2 separate regions of the Homo sapiens genome follow, and region 2 is linked to region 1. The links are contacts of gene promoters, found by promoter capture Hi-C in human tissues and cell types (Jung and others, 2019). All regions are on one chromosome and are shown on one strand. Each heading gives the region's core, a stretch centred on a gene start or on the middle of the fragment in contact. The rest is flanking DNA. Distances are from core to core; before and after follow the strand shown.

Evidence for each region. Contacts are between HindIII fragments. The study calls those that stand out against the background at their distance.
Region 2: a contact is called between a fragment that was not itself captured here and the fragment with the promoter of TEFM in region 1, in 1 of the 25 tissues and cell types used here (pancreas).

Annotation. Positions count from the first base shown.
Region 1 is chr17:30,902,573-30,908,000 of GRCh38, forward strand. TEFM (transcription elongation factor, mitochondrial) reads right to left here and starts at 3,666. Exons shown (of 4, transcript NM_024683.4): 1 at 3,596-3,666; 2 at 1,494-1,957. The coding sequence starts at 3,626. RefSeq lists enhancers at 4,156-4,425, 4,404-5,204. The HindIII fragment of the contact is 8,355 bases long and covers 757-5,428 here.
Region 2 is chr17:30,950,985-30,957,010 of GRCh38, forward strand. It overlaps ADAP2 (ArfGAP with dual PH domains 2), which reads left to right. Exons shown (of 11, transcript NM_018404.3): 8 at 2,304-2,366; 9 at 3,494-3,571; 10 at 5,257-5,485. Among named protein-coding and RNA genes, the nearest start is that of RNF135, 17 kb to the right of the region's middle. The HindIII fragment of the contact is 5,308 bases long and covers 1,281-6,026 here.

The sequences.
Region 1 (5,428 bases), core at 2,416-4,915:
TATGTTCCAGATCAATTGCAGCAGTTCTACTTGGAGTCCATGAGTGGACTTAACAGAATCTGCCAGTCCTCTGAAACTGTGTAGTATTCTGTGTATATGTGCTATATCTTTTTCTATGGGAAGAGGGTCCACAGCTTTCATCAGGTTTTCAAAAGTACCCATATTCCTCAAAAAACGGACCCACTGGTCCAGAAAAAAAATGGTGCTTATGATTTTTATGAGATAATGATTATCAAGCAATGTTACACAGGACATGAGTTCCTCTAAAGTTTAATACTTGAGTGCTGTGGCCGGGCGCAGTGTCTCACACCTGTAATCTCAGCACTTCGGGAGCCCGAGGCAGGTGGATCACGAGGTCAACAGATCAAGACCATCCTGGCGCCAACATGGTAAAACCTCATCTCTACTAAAAATACAAAAATTAGCTGGGCGTGGTGGCATGTGCCTGTAGTTTCAGCTACTCAGGAGGCTGAGGCAGGAGAATCGCTTGAACCTGGGAGGTGGAGGTTGTTGTGAGATCATGCCACTGTACTCCAGCCTGGCGACAGCACAAGACTCTGTCTCAAAAAAAAAAAAAAAAAAAAAATTGGCTGTGTCAAATATTTCTAGTATTTATTTTTTTAAGACAATAGAAAAAGAATTGCTTTTAGAATGGTGTTTTTTTTTTTTTTTTGAGACAGAGTCTTGCTCTGTAGCCAGGCTGGAGTGCACTGGCGTGATGTCAGCTCACTGCAACCTCTGCCTCCCAGGTTCAAGAGATTCTCCTGCCTCAGCCTCCCGAGTAGCTGGGACTACAGGCCCACGCCACCATGCCCAGCTAAATTTTGTATTTTTAGTAGAGATGGGCTTTCACCACATTGGCCAGGATTGTCTGGATCTCTTGACCTTGTGATCCGCCCGCTTTGGCCTCCCAAAGTGCTGGGATTACAGGTGTGAGCCAGCCGCTTTTTTTTTTTTTTTTTAATCTTACCTATAGACTTGCATGATTCAAGATAAAATGCTTTTTAAAGGAGAAAAGGTACAGAAAATAATTTTAAATTCTGCCGGAAAGACTGGTATAATGTTCTAAAGTCACTCACTGGCCATAACCTATCTTTGCTCCTTAATTTCTCATTAATCCTAACATCACCCTTAGACACAGCCTGGTATCTCCAACGACACTCCTCTTAAATAAGCCTTGCCTAGACCTGCTTCTCAGCATCAACTGTTCTTTCTACCTACAATGCCCTCCTCTCCCATCCAAAGGATCTCTCTTTTAAGACCTAAATTGAGTTCTTCCAGTAAACTTTCCACAACAGTCACAGCCCATTGTTTTCTCTCCTCTCAACTGCCAATTTACTATCTGTACATCTCATTATTTGGTAGTGATCATATACTTGCCAACTAAACCTGAAGAACCCTGTCTTAGCCACTTCCCAACCCAATGCCCAGAAGAGTGCTTTCTAGAGTAGGTTCTCAAATATTAGGCAGTATAGCAGACATGAAGAATATACCTTAAGTCTTTCTCTTTCTATGTCTGGTTTGAGGAGCTTTCTCAGGAACCGGTTTTCCGGTGACTTTCTTTTTTCCCGTCCAGTCTTTGGACAAAGTATGGAGTTACAAACTTGAACTGTACTTTTATACTTAAACAAGGGCACATTCATTAAACTCTCTAAATTCTGAAATGGCCCAAAGTTTTCTCTGTGCTCTACGATATTGATGGACCTTCTTCCACGAAGCAATCGGAAAGCTTCAAGTTCTTTAGTAGATGCTGTATTCAACACATGCAAGATGGAAGCCTGCTGTTCTGAAGAGAAGAGCTTGTCAAGTGCATTTTCGGGCTCCTTTGCATTTTCATCACAAAAAGTAACATTGGGAGTAATTTTCTTAGGTGTAGTGGATTTTTTCCGACAGCAGAAATTATGTAAGGCCCAGTACAGGGATGACCTCGACGGGGTCAGAAAGCATCTCCACCTCTCTAAAAGGAAAATTTAGCAAAATATAAGTTGGATGTCCTACTTCCTTTGGGGTTAGTTGCAAGCTTGACTAGATCCTTTGCAAAGTCACAAATACTTTCCTGGAATTTAAGAACTAATAGAGGACAATATTAAATTGTCTTGGAGAATCATCTTTTTTTTTTTTTTTTGAGACGGAGTCTTGCTCTGTTGCCCAGGCTGGAGTGCAGTGGCCGATCTCGGCTCACTGCAAGCTCCGCCTCCCAGGTTCACGCCATTCTCCTGCCTCAGCCTCCCAGGTGGCTGGGACTACAGGCGCCTGCCACCACGCCCGGCTAATTTTTTGTATATTTAGTAGAGACGGGGTTTCACAGTGTTAGCCAGGATGGTCTCCATCTCCTGACCTCGTGATCCGCCCACCTCAGCCTCCCAAAGTGCTGGGATTACAGGCGTGAGCCACTGTGCCCGGCCCGAGAATCATCTTTAAAAGAGGATTAGTTTTTAAACTATATTATATAGAGTTTTAAATAGAGCTTTTGTTGTTTTCAAGTCACGAGAGATGTCTCCCGATATTTATGGATCAGTCCGAAGTTTTACTACCTAGAAAATTGTATTTTATACCCATCAGGAAGCAAGTAGTTGAAATAATTATTCCAACTGCTTAAAGTTTCTGATATTTTTAATTTAGAGGAATCTTTTTGTAACTAATATTTCCTGTTAAGGTTTGTCTTAGGCCGGGCGCGGTGACTCACGCTTATAATCCCAGCACTTTGGGAGGCCGAGGTGGGCGGATCACCTGAGGTCGGGAGTTCGAGACCAGCCTGACCAACATGGAGAAACCCTGTCTCTACTAATAATACAAAATTAGCCGGGCGTGGTGGCACATGCCTGTAATCCCAGCTACTCGGGAGGCTGAGGCAGGAGAATCGCTTGAGCCCGGAAGGCGGAGGTTGCGGTGAGCCGAGATCGCACCATTGCACTCCAGTCTCGGCAACAAGAGCGAAACTCCGTCTCAAAAAAAAAAAAAAAAGGGTTTTGTCTTCACTTCCATTTTCACATTTTAGTATCTCATCTGGTGGAACTAAATAAAATTAAATTTTGTACGTTTATAAGAAATGTTTCAGCTAAGTGATAGATTTAAGGGCAGTTTTACTTTCTTCCGTACACTTTTCAAGACTTCTACATGACGTTTTTGCAAGTATGAGAAACACCATACAATGCATAACTTTGTAAAACCAGTGGGAAGTCACTCTAACATCGCAGCCACAGGAAAGTAATGTGGCCAGAGGTAAGCAAGCGGCTGTGAGAATGTGAACCATCCGCCCACTCTGAGGAGCCACCCGTGGACCCTGAGGCCGGGGAAGCACAAATGTTCCGAAAACTGCCCCGTCAGCTAGGCTGGGGCCCCAAGAGAGGGGCCTGAACAAGGGACATGAGGAAGGAAACACTCTAGGACATGAGGGACATGAGGAAGGAAACACTCCAGGTTCCTCCAGAATACCTCCAGCCGTATTCCATTAGCCTCTAGGGTCAGAGGCTAATGACAGACGGGAAATCACCCCAGTGTTCCAAGCACCCTACCTCCCGCCGTATTCCATTAGCCTCTAGGGTCAGAGGCTAATGACAGACGGGAAATCACCCCAGTGTTCCAAGCACCCTACCTCCCGCCGTGAAGAGGACAGACCCGCTCATCTCCAAGTTGAATCAGTAGGTCCAGTCTTCCTCCATTGACTTCCGGTTCCTGCGTGCTGCGCCCAAAAGCGCTCGGCCTGCACTCGGCGGAAAGGTTGTTGTCCAAGCGGCGTTCCGGGGCAAGGCCCGAGGTGTGTCCCGCTGAGCAGTGGGTCGTCCGCGTCTGGGCTGCGGGCTTCCAGGCGGGCGCCTGCCGAGGCCCTGTCCCCGGATCCCGAGTCCCTGGCTGGCCCGCAGTCTTCTTCCACTGCACCGGGGAAACGTTCTTGCCCCTACCGACTCCTGAGAGCCGCTGGGCCGAATCTCCAGGAAGGCGATTCCGAGGCCAGTTTTAGTCTGTAGTGGGTAAAGTGCCTCCTTCGTGGAGACTCCCTGGGTTTCTCCTAGACACTTAGATTGAGGAGCTCCTGTTGGGGCCCAGCCTGTGGCGCCGGGAGCGGGATCAGGTAGGGGCAGCGTAGACAAGGTCCTCAAATAACCTTTTCACCAGGTAGACTGGAATAACGGGGAGAGATGCGAAGTGTTTGAGGAGCTCAGCGGGGAAACAGGGCAGGCAAGGGATTAGGTAAAGGCGAGGGAGGAGGAGATTGCGTTGGCGCTGGAGCGGTATTCCTCTTAGAAGGGATAAAGGGAGATGAATGTAGCGCCGAATTTAGTTGGTCCTTGAATAATGGGTGGAGCAGTTGAATACTCCACCAGATAGGAAGCCTGAAGTCCCCGAGGTTTATGATTTGCAGTCAGACTGGAGAGTGTTCCTAGAAAATTGGCCATATACTGTATAGCGAATGTGAGGCTGGATTGCAGGTGAAGAGCCTGGGAGCAATGAGAAGTCGCGAAGAGAGTGTATCTTCCCAGGTGAGAGGCAAGCGTAAGGAATTTTTTTTTTAACAGTCTTGCTCTGTCGCCCAGGTTGGAGTGCAGTGGTGCGATCTGGACTCACTGCAAACTCCGCCTCCCGATTTCAAGTGATTCTCGTGCCTCAGCCTCCCGAGTAGCTGAGATTACAGGCGAGCGCCACTACGCCCGGCTAATTTTTGTATTTTTAGTAGAGACAGGTGTCACCATGTTGGCCAGGCTGGTCTCGAACTCCTGACCTCAGGTGATCCGCCCGACTCGGCCTCCCAAAGTGCTGGGATTACAGGCGTGGGCCACTGCGCCTGGCCAACCGTAAGGAATTGAACCTAGGAGATGTAAGGAGAGTGGAAAGAAAAGAATTATTTCTGGAAGATGGGGAGCCAGTTTTGTGAAAAACGGGGAATTCAGGAGGGAGGGAAAGGTGATGAGTTTGCGTTTTTATGAGGCAGCAATGGGTTGATTGTTTGTGTCTGGAAGGCAGTGGGGATGTAGGGGAATCATAAGTATTAATAAAATGTGCTGGTCGGGAGCAGTGGCTCCCAAAGTGTAATTCCAGCACTTTGGGAGGCCGAGACGGGCGGATCGCTTGAGCTCTTGAGTTCCAGACCACCCTGGGCAACATGGCGAAACCCCGTCTCTACGAAAAAATTAGCCGGGTGTGGTGGAGCACGCCTGTTATCCCAGCTACTCAGGAGGCTGAGGTGGGAGAATCACCTGAGCCCGGGAGGTAGAGGTTGCAGTGAGTGGAGATCGTGTCACCACACTCCAGCGTGGGGGACAGAGCCAGACCTTGTCTCAAAAAAAGAAAAAAAATTGCTCATAGGAAGTCTAGAAACCTTGGCAGTTTCTGGGGAACTTAGGAATCTAACAAGAAATAACATCAACTTTTTTCTGCAAAATCCTCCAAATCAGGAGGAAATAATTTCCTCAACTGTAGGGCTTATTCA
Region 2 (6,026 bases), core at 2,685-5,184, 49 kb after region 1:
GTACCTGATATCCATCCCGTGTCTTTCCTCCCATTTAATGTCTGTGTATGGTGTGAGGTTCTGAGCAATCACCAGGCCTGGCTCAAGCTTTAGGGGTCCACATGTTGGAAACCCAGGGCATCCCAGTGGGGTCTGTGGTCCTGTAATAAATGCATATGGTCTCTTGGACTTCAGAGAAAGTAGGTTTTGTCGCCATGGTGACAGATGAGTGCATCGAGGCTCAGAGAGGTGAGGTGACTTGCCTAGGTGATAGTACCTACTTTCTAGGGCTATTGTGAGACTCCAGCGAGCCAAGGCATCAGAAGTACAGGAAGCAGTGCTCCAGCCATGTGACTTTCCTTTTTTTCCCAATGGTTTCCCTAGGCCTCTGCTTGCTCTGTGCTGGCTCAAATTCCGAATATTGAGCAGTTCGGGACTCCATCTGTTTTCTCCAAATGGAACAATTAAAGCCTAGTGAATGTATTTTAAGAGAAGGGGAGTAGTACAGTTTATATCTTGTTTCTTACATTAAAAATTTTTTTTTAATTTTTTATAGAGATGATGTCTCACTTATGTTGCCCAGGCTGGTCTCGAACTTCTGGCCTCAAGCAATCCTCCTACCTCGGCCTCCCAAAGTGCTGGGATTACAGGTGTGAGCCACTGCATCTGACCAATATTTTCTTTTCTTTTCTTTTTTTTTTTTTTTTTTTGAGACAGAGTCTCGCTCTTTCGCCCAGGCCAGAGTGCAGTGGCGCCATCTTGGCTCACTGCAAGCTCCGCCTCCCAGGTTCACGCCATTCTCCTGCCTCAGCCTCCCGAGTAGCTGGGACTACAGGCGCTCGCCACTGCACCCGGCTACTTTTTTGTATTTTTAGTGGAGACGGGGTTTCACCGTGTTAGCCAGGATGGTCTCGATCTCCTGACCTCGTGATCCACACGCCTCGGCCTCCCAAAGTGCTGGGATTACAGGCGTGAGCCACTGCGCCTGGCCTAATATTTTCATTTTTGGCTCACAAATTTCCCCCTTTTAAACTTCCCATAGCTGTTCCCCAGACCTCACTTCCCCTGTGCCTCTGCCCTGGGCCCTGGAGCTCTGGAGAAGCCTCTCTGTTCTTTGAAGCCTGGACTGTCATTTGAAGCTCTAGACTTTCCAGGTTGATGCCTAGGAGCATAGGAGGCCATCATCAACCCCTGGAAACATCTCTGGGCGTAGGCTGCCAGGCTGGAAGGGATGCTGGGGATCACATGATCCAGGCTGTTTATCACACAGGGGAGACATAAGGCCTCGAGAGACAGAAGGTCTTAACAAAGGTAATGCAGCTGATGGAGGCCAGAACTGGAATTAGAACCAGGTCTCCCGACTTCTGCTTCAGAACTTTCTCTGTCCACTCTGGCATCATTTTCTTTTCTTTTTTGTTTTGTTTTGTTTTGAGATGGAGTCTCCCTCTGTCACCCAGACTGGAGTGCAGTGGCACTATCTCAGCTCACTGCAACCTCTGCCTCCCAAGTTCAAGGGATTCTCTTGCCTCAGCCTCCTGAGTAGCTGGGATTACAAGCGCGTGCCACCATGCCCAGCTAATTTTTATATTTTTGGTAAAGGTGGGGTTTCGCCATGTTGGCCAGGCTAGTCTCAAACTCCTGGCCTCAAGTGATCTGCCTGCCTTGACCTCCCAAAGTGCTGGGATTACAGGTGTGAGCCACTGCACCCAGCCTCTGGCCATTATTTTCTTGTTGCTTGGTGTCAGAATCCTGACCAGGCCTTTCCCAAGGTCCTGCTCAGAGGGCCCTGGCATATTTATACTTTAGCACCTAGTGTAGTGGTAGGAGTACAGTCTAGTGTCATTGGCCCTGGGCCTGAATCTCAGCTCTTTGTGCTACCAGTGATGTGACTTTGGGAAAATCCCCAGCCCCTTCTCTGTGGCCTGGTTTCTTCAGATGTGTAATGAGGCTGGTGATACCCACCTCGCAGGGTGATTGAGAATTGCACCTGGAGCCTGATGCAAAGTGGACCCTCAGAACATGTTGCCTGACACCAAGAGGGTCTCTGCAGAGCCTTGCCTATGTCCACACCCTGGGGTTACTGAAGGAATCCTTAAACCAAAACTCGGCCGTGCCACTAAGCTCTGCAAACATCTGGGGTGCTGTCGACTGGCTTTGTTGAAATATTAATATTATGACCATTGCACTTTCCAAATATAATACTGTGAGCCATGAGCGTACATCCTTCCCCATTTCAAACTTCCCCTTTGTCGGGAGCCAAGCTCGGCGGGAACCTGGAGCCTTGGGGTGTGAGTTGGGGGTCAGTGTCTGTCTCTCTTCCCCAGCTCGTGCCATTCCTCACCAGGAACTACCTCAAACAAGGCTTCATGGAAAAGACTGGGCCAAAGGTACCTTCTATCACTCCCTGGGGAACTTAATATGGTTTAATGTATATAGAAGGTTTCATGTGTTTATGGGATGATTGTTAAGAGGACAGTGAAAGGTGTTAGGCCAAGCTTGTCCAACCCACAGCCCATGGGCCACATGCAACCCAGGACGGCTTGGAATGATGCCCAACAGAAATTCATAAACTTTCTTTTTTAAATTTTTTTGAGACAGAGTCTTGCTCTGTCACCCAGGCCAGAGTACAGTGGTGTGATCTCGGCTCACTGCAACCTCCGCCTCCCAGATTCAAGCGATTCTCCTGCCTCAGACTCCTGAGTAGCTGGGATTACAGGTGCCCACCACCATGCCCGGCTAATTTTTGTAATTTTAGTAGAGATGGGGTTTCACCATGTTGGCCAGGCTGGTCTCGAACTCCTGACCTCAAGCGATCTGCCCACCTCAGCCTCCCAAAGTGCTGGGATTACAGGCATGAGCCACCATGCCCAGCCAAATTCGTGAACTTTCTTAAAACATTATGAGATATTTTTGCGATTTTTTTTTTTTGGCTCATCAGCTATCATTAGTGTTAGTGTATTTTATGTGTGGCCCAAGACAATTCTTCCAATGTGGCCCAGGGAAGGCAAGAGATTGGATATTCCTGTGTTAGGCAATCATGAAAGCAAGCCTTGGGCAGGTGGAAAAAGCAGTCAAAGGGTTGTTTTCAGAGAGGCGCAGCCCCTCCGCCTGGTTCTTGTTGCTGGGCTTTCTCTCCCTGACCTAGGTTAGAATTTGGCCAAGGCCAGCACTTTCAGCCTTGCCAAGCAGTAGCCACTTCTGATTTTTTCCAACTTCCTTTCCGGCTTCTTTGTCTACAGCCTGAAAAAGAGGAAGGTGCCTCTTCCAAGTTGAGGCAGCAGGGTGAAGCTGGCAAAGGGTATGGTGGGGTTGGAAGGGGAATGGGCAGAACCTTCAGAGCCTGAGGGCTCCTATCCAGGCCCCAGGGAGAAGCACTAGGATGTCTGACTGAGGAGGCTGGGCTGGAGAACCAGTGGGACTGGCCAGCTCCTTTGGTTTGGGCTGGGCTGGCCCCTGACCTCTATCCTCAGAAACTGACCTGGTCATCTGTGGTAAGAAGTTCCCTCTTTTGCAGCAGAAAGAACCTTTCAAGAAAAGGTGGTTCGCCCTGGATTGCCATGAGCGGAGGCTGCTCTATTACAAGAACCCACTGGTAAGAGCCACTCCTGCTCCCTCCCCAGGGCTTCCTCAAACATTGCTGGGTGGTGCTTGTCTGGAACTATGTGAAAGCTACAGATAAACACATCTCCCAGAGCCCCAGAGCTAGAGAAACCTTGAGAGGAAAACCTCTACCCCTTGTTTTTGTTTCTCTTGAGTAATCTCCTATGGCATGAAGCTTCTCCTCGCTTTCAGGAAGTCTATTATGAGTATCCAAAATGCTGCCCATGGTAGTTAAATATGGTGTATCTCTTCCTCTAGTCTCCAGGGCTCACTTCTAACCAAGAGGCCGTGATGTGTAGTAGTTAGGAGTGTGGTGGACTCTAGAACCCCACCGTCTGGGCTCTGGTCTCAGCCCTGCCACTTGTAGTAGTGTTGCCTTGAGCCGTGTACTTAGTGCTCTGTGCCTCGGTTTCCTCCTCTGAAAAACAGGCTTAATAAGAATGCCTTCCCCAGAGGTTGCCATGATGGTTATTTAAGTTACTATATATAAAGCATTGTAATTCCTGATGCTGATTTTAATAAGTGCTCCGTAAATGTTAGGTATCACTTATTTTTTTTTTTTTAGAGACAGAGTCTCTCTCTGTCACCCAGGCTGGAATGCAGTGGCACAATCACAGCTCATTGCAACCTTGAACTTCTGGGCCCAAGTTATCTTCCTGCCTCAGCCTCCTAAGTAGCTCAGAATACAGGCATGCATCACCATGCCCAGCTAATTAAAAAAAAAAAATTTAGGGCTGGATGTGCTGCCTTTTGTCTGTAATCCCAGCACTTTGGGAGGCTGAGACAGGAGGATCGCTTGAGCCCAGAAGTTCGAGACCAGCCTGTGCAACATAGTGAGATCCCATCTCTACAAGAAACTTAAGGCCAGGCACGGTGGCTCACATCTGTAAACCCAGCATTTTGGAAGGCTGAGGCGGGGCAGATCACGAGCTCAGGAGTTCGAGACTAGCCTAACCAACATGGTGAAACCCTGTCTCTACTAAAAATACAAAAATTAGCCGGACGTGGTGGTGCGTGCCTGTAAGCCCAGCTACTCAGGAGGCTGAGGCAGGAGAATCGCTTGAAACCGGGAGGCAGAGGGTGCAGAGGGTGCATGCCATTGCACTCCAGCCTGGGTGCAGAGTGAGACTCCGTCTCAAAAAAAAAAAAAGAAAGAAAAAAAAAGAAACTTAAAAATTAGTCAGGTGTGGTGGTGCATGCCTGTAGTCCTAGCTGCTTGGGAGGCTGAGGTGGGAGGATTGCCTGAGCCTGGGAGGTTGAGGCTGGGATGAGCCATGATTGTGCCACTGCACTTCCAGCCTGGGTGACAGAGTGAGGCCCTGTCTCCAAAAACAATTCATAATAATAATTAATAATTTTTTTTTGTAGAGAAGGGGTCTCACTATGTTGTCCCGGTTGGTCTCATATTCCTGGCCTCAGGCAATCCTCTGCCTTGGCTTCCCAAAGTGCTAGGATTACAGGCATGAACTACCAGGCCCACCCTCGGTATCTTTTCAATAGATGATGTGTATGATTTATTTTAGGGTTTTGATCTTTCAAATTCTGGGTCCCACTTAGCAGAAATCCCAGCAGGGACCTCATACCCCTTTCCCAAAATAAAGCTTGGAGGCTGTCAGGGCTGCAGGGCCCCTCTGCCCTGGGGGCACCCTCTGATGACCCTGTACTCTCCATTTTCAGGATGCCTTCGAGCAGGGCCAGGTTTTTCTTGGGAACAAGGAGCAGGGATATGAAGCCTACGAAGACCTGCCCAAGGGCATCCGAGGAAATCGCTGGAAAGCCGGACTCACCATTGTCACCCCAGAGCGGAGATTTGTCCTCACTTGCCCCAGTGAGAAGGAACAGCAGGAATGGCTGGAAAGTTTGCGGGGTGTCCTGTCCAGCCCCTTGACGCCCCTCAACCGGCTTAGTAAGAAGCAGGAACTGAGGGGTGTTCTTTTGGACAAGGGCAGAGGACAGAAAATTGCTTCTTCACTTAGGTTCAGCTTTGATACCACAAAAGATTCCTGATTCCTGACTATGCTCTTTTCATTGTCTTCTCTTCCTGCAAAAGAAAAGCACAGACATGCCATTATTGCCAAAAGGTCTCCTCTGTCCACTCTGGGTTCCCCTAACCGAGCCCTTCCCCAGGAGCTTTTAGAGGAGTTTGGCCCTGGCAGAACCCCTGGGTGCTGTCTGTACCCCTTGCGGTGTGGGGGCTAAGCAGCTTCTCTTTCCCTCCACCGTGCTCTATGCTGATCCTTTTTCTCGTGAGAAAACGCTGGCCTGTTATTATTAGCTAAGGTCACACCCGCTGGGCAGCTCCTGGGATTTTTGGATTCCTCCCCACTCCAGAGGGAAGGCTATTTCTAGTGGCTTCTTTTCTTTGAGTCCTCCCTTCTGTCTGCCTCTCTCCTGTTCCTCCTCTTTACCAGTAGGGCTTCCTCAATGCTGACAGCCCTGTGAAAAAA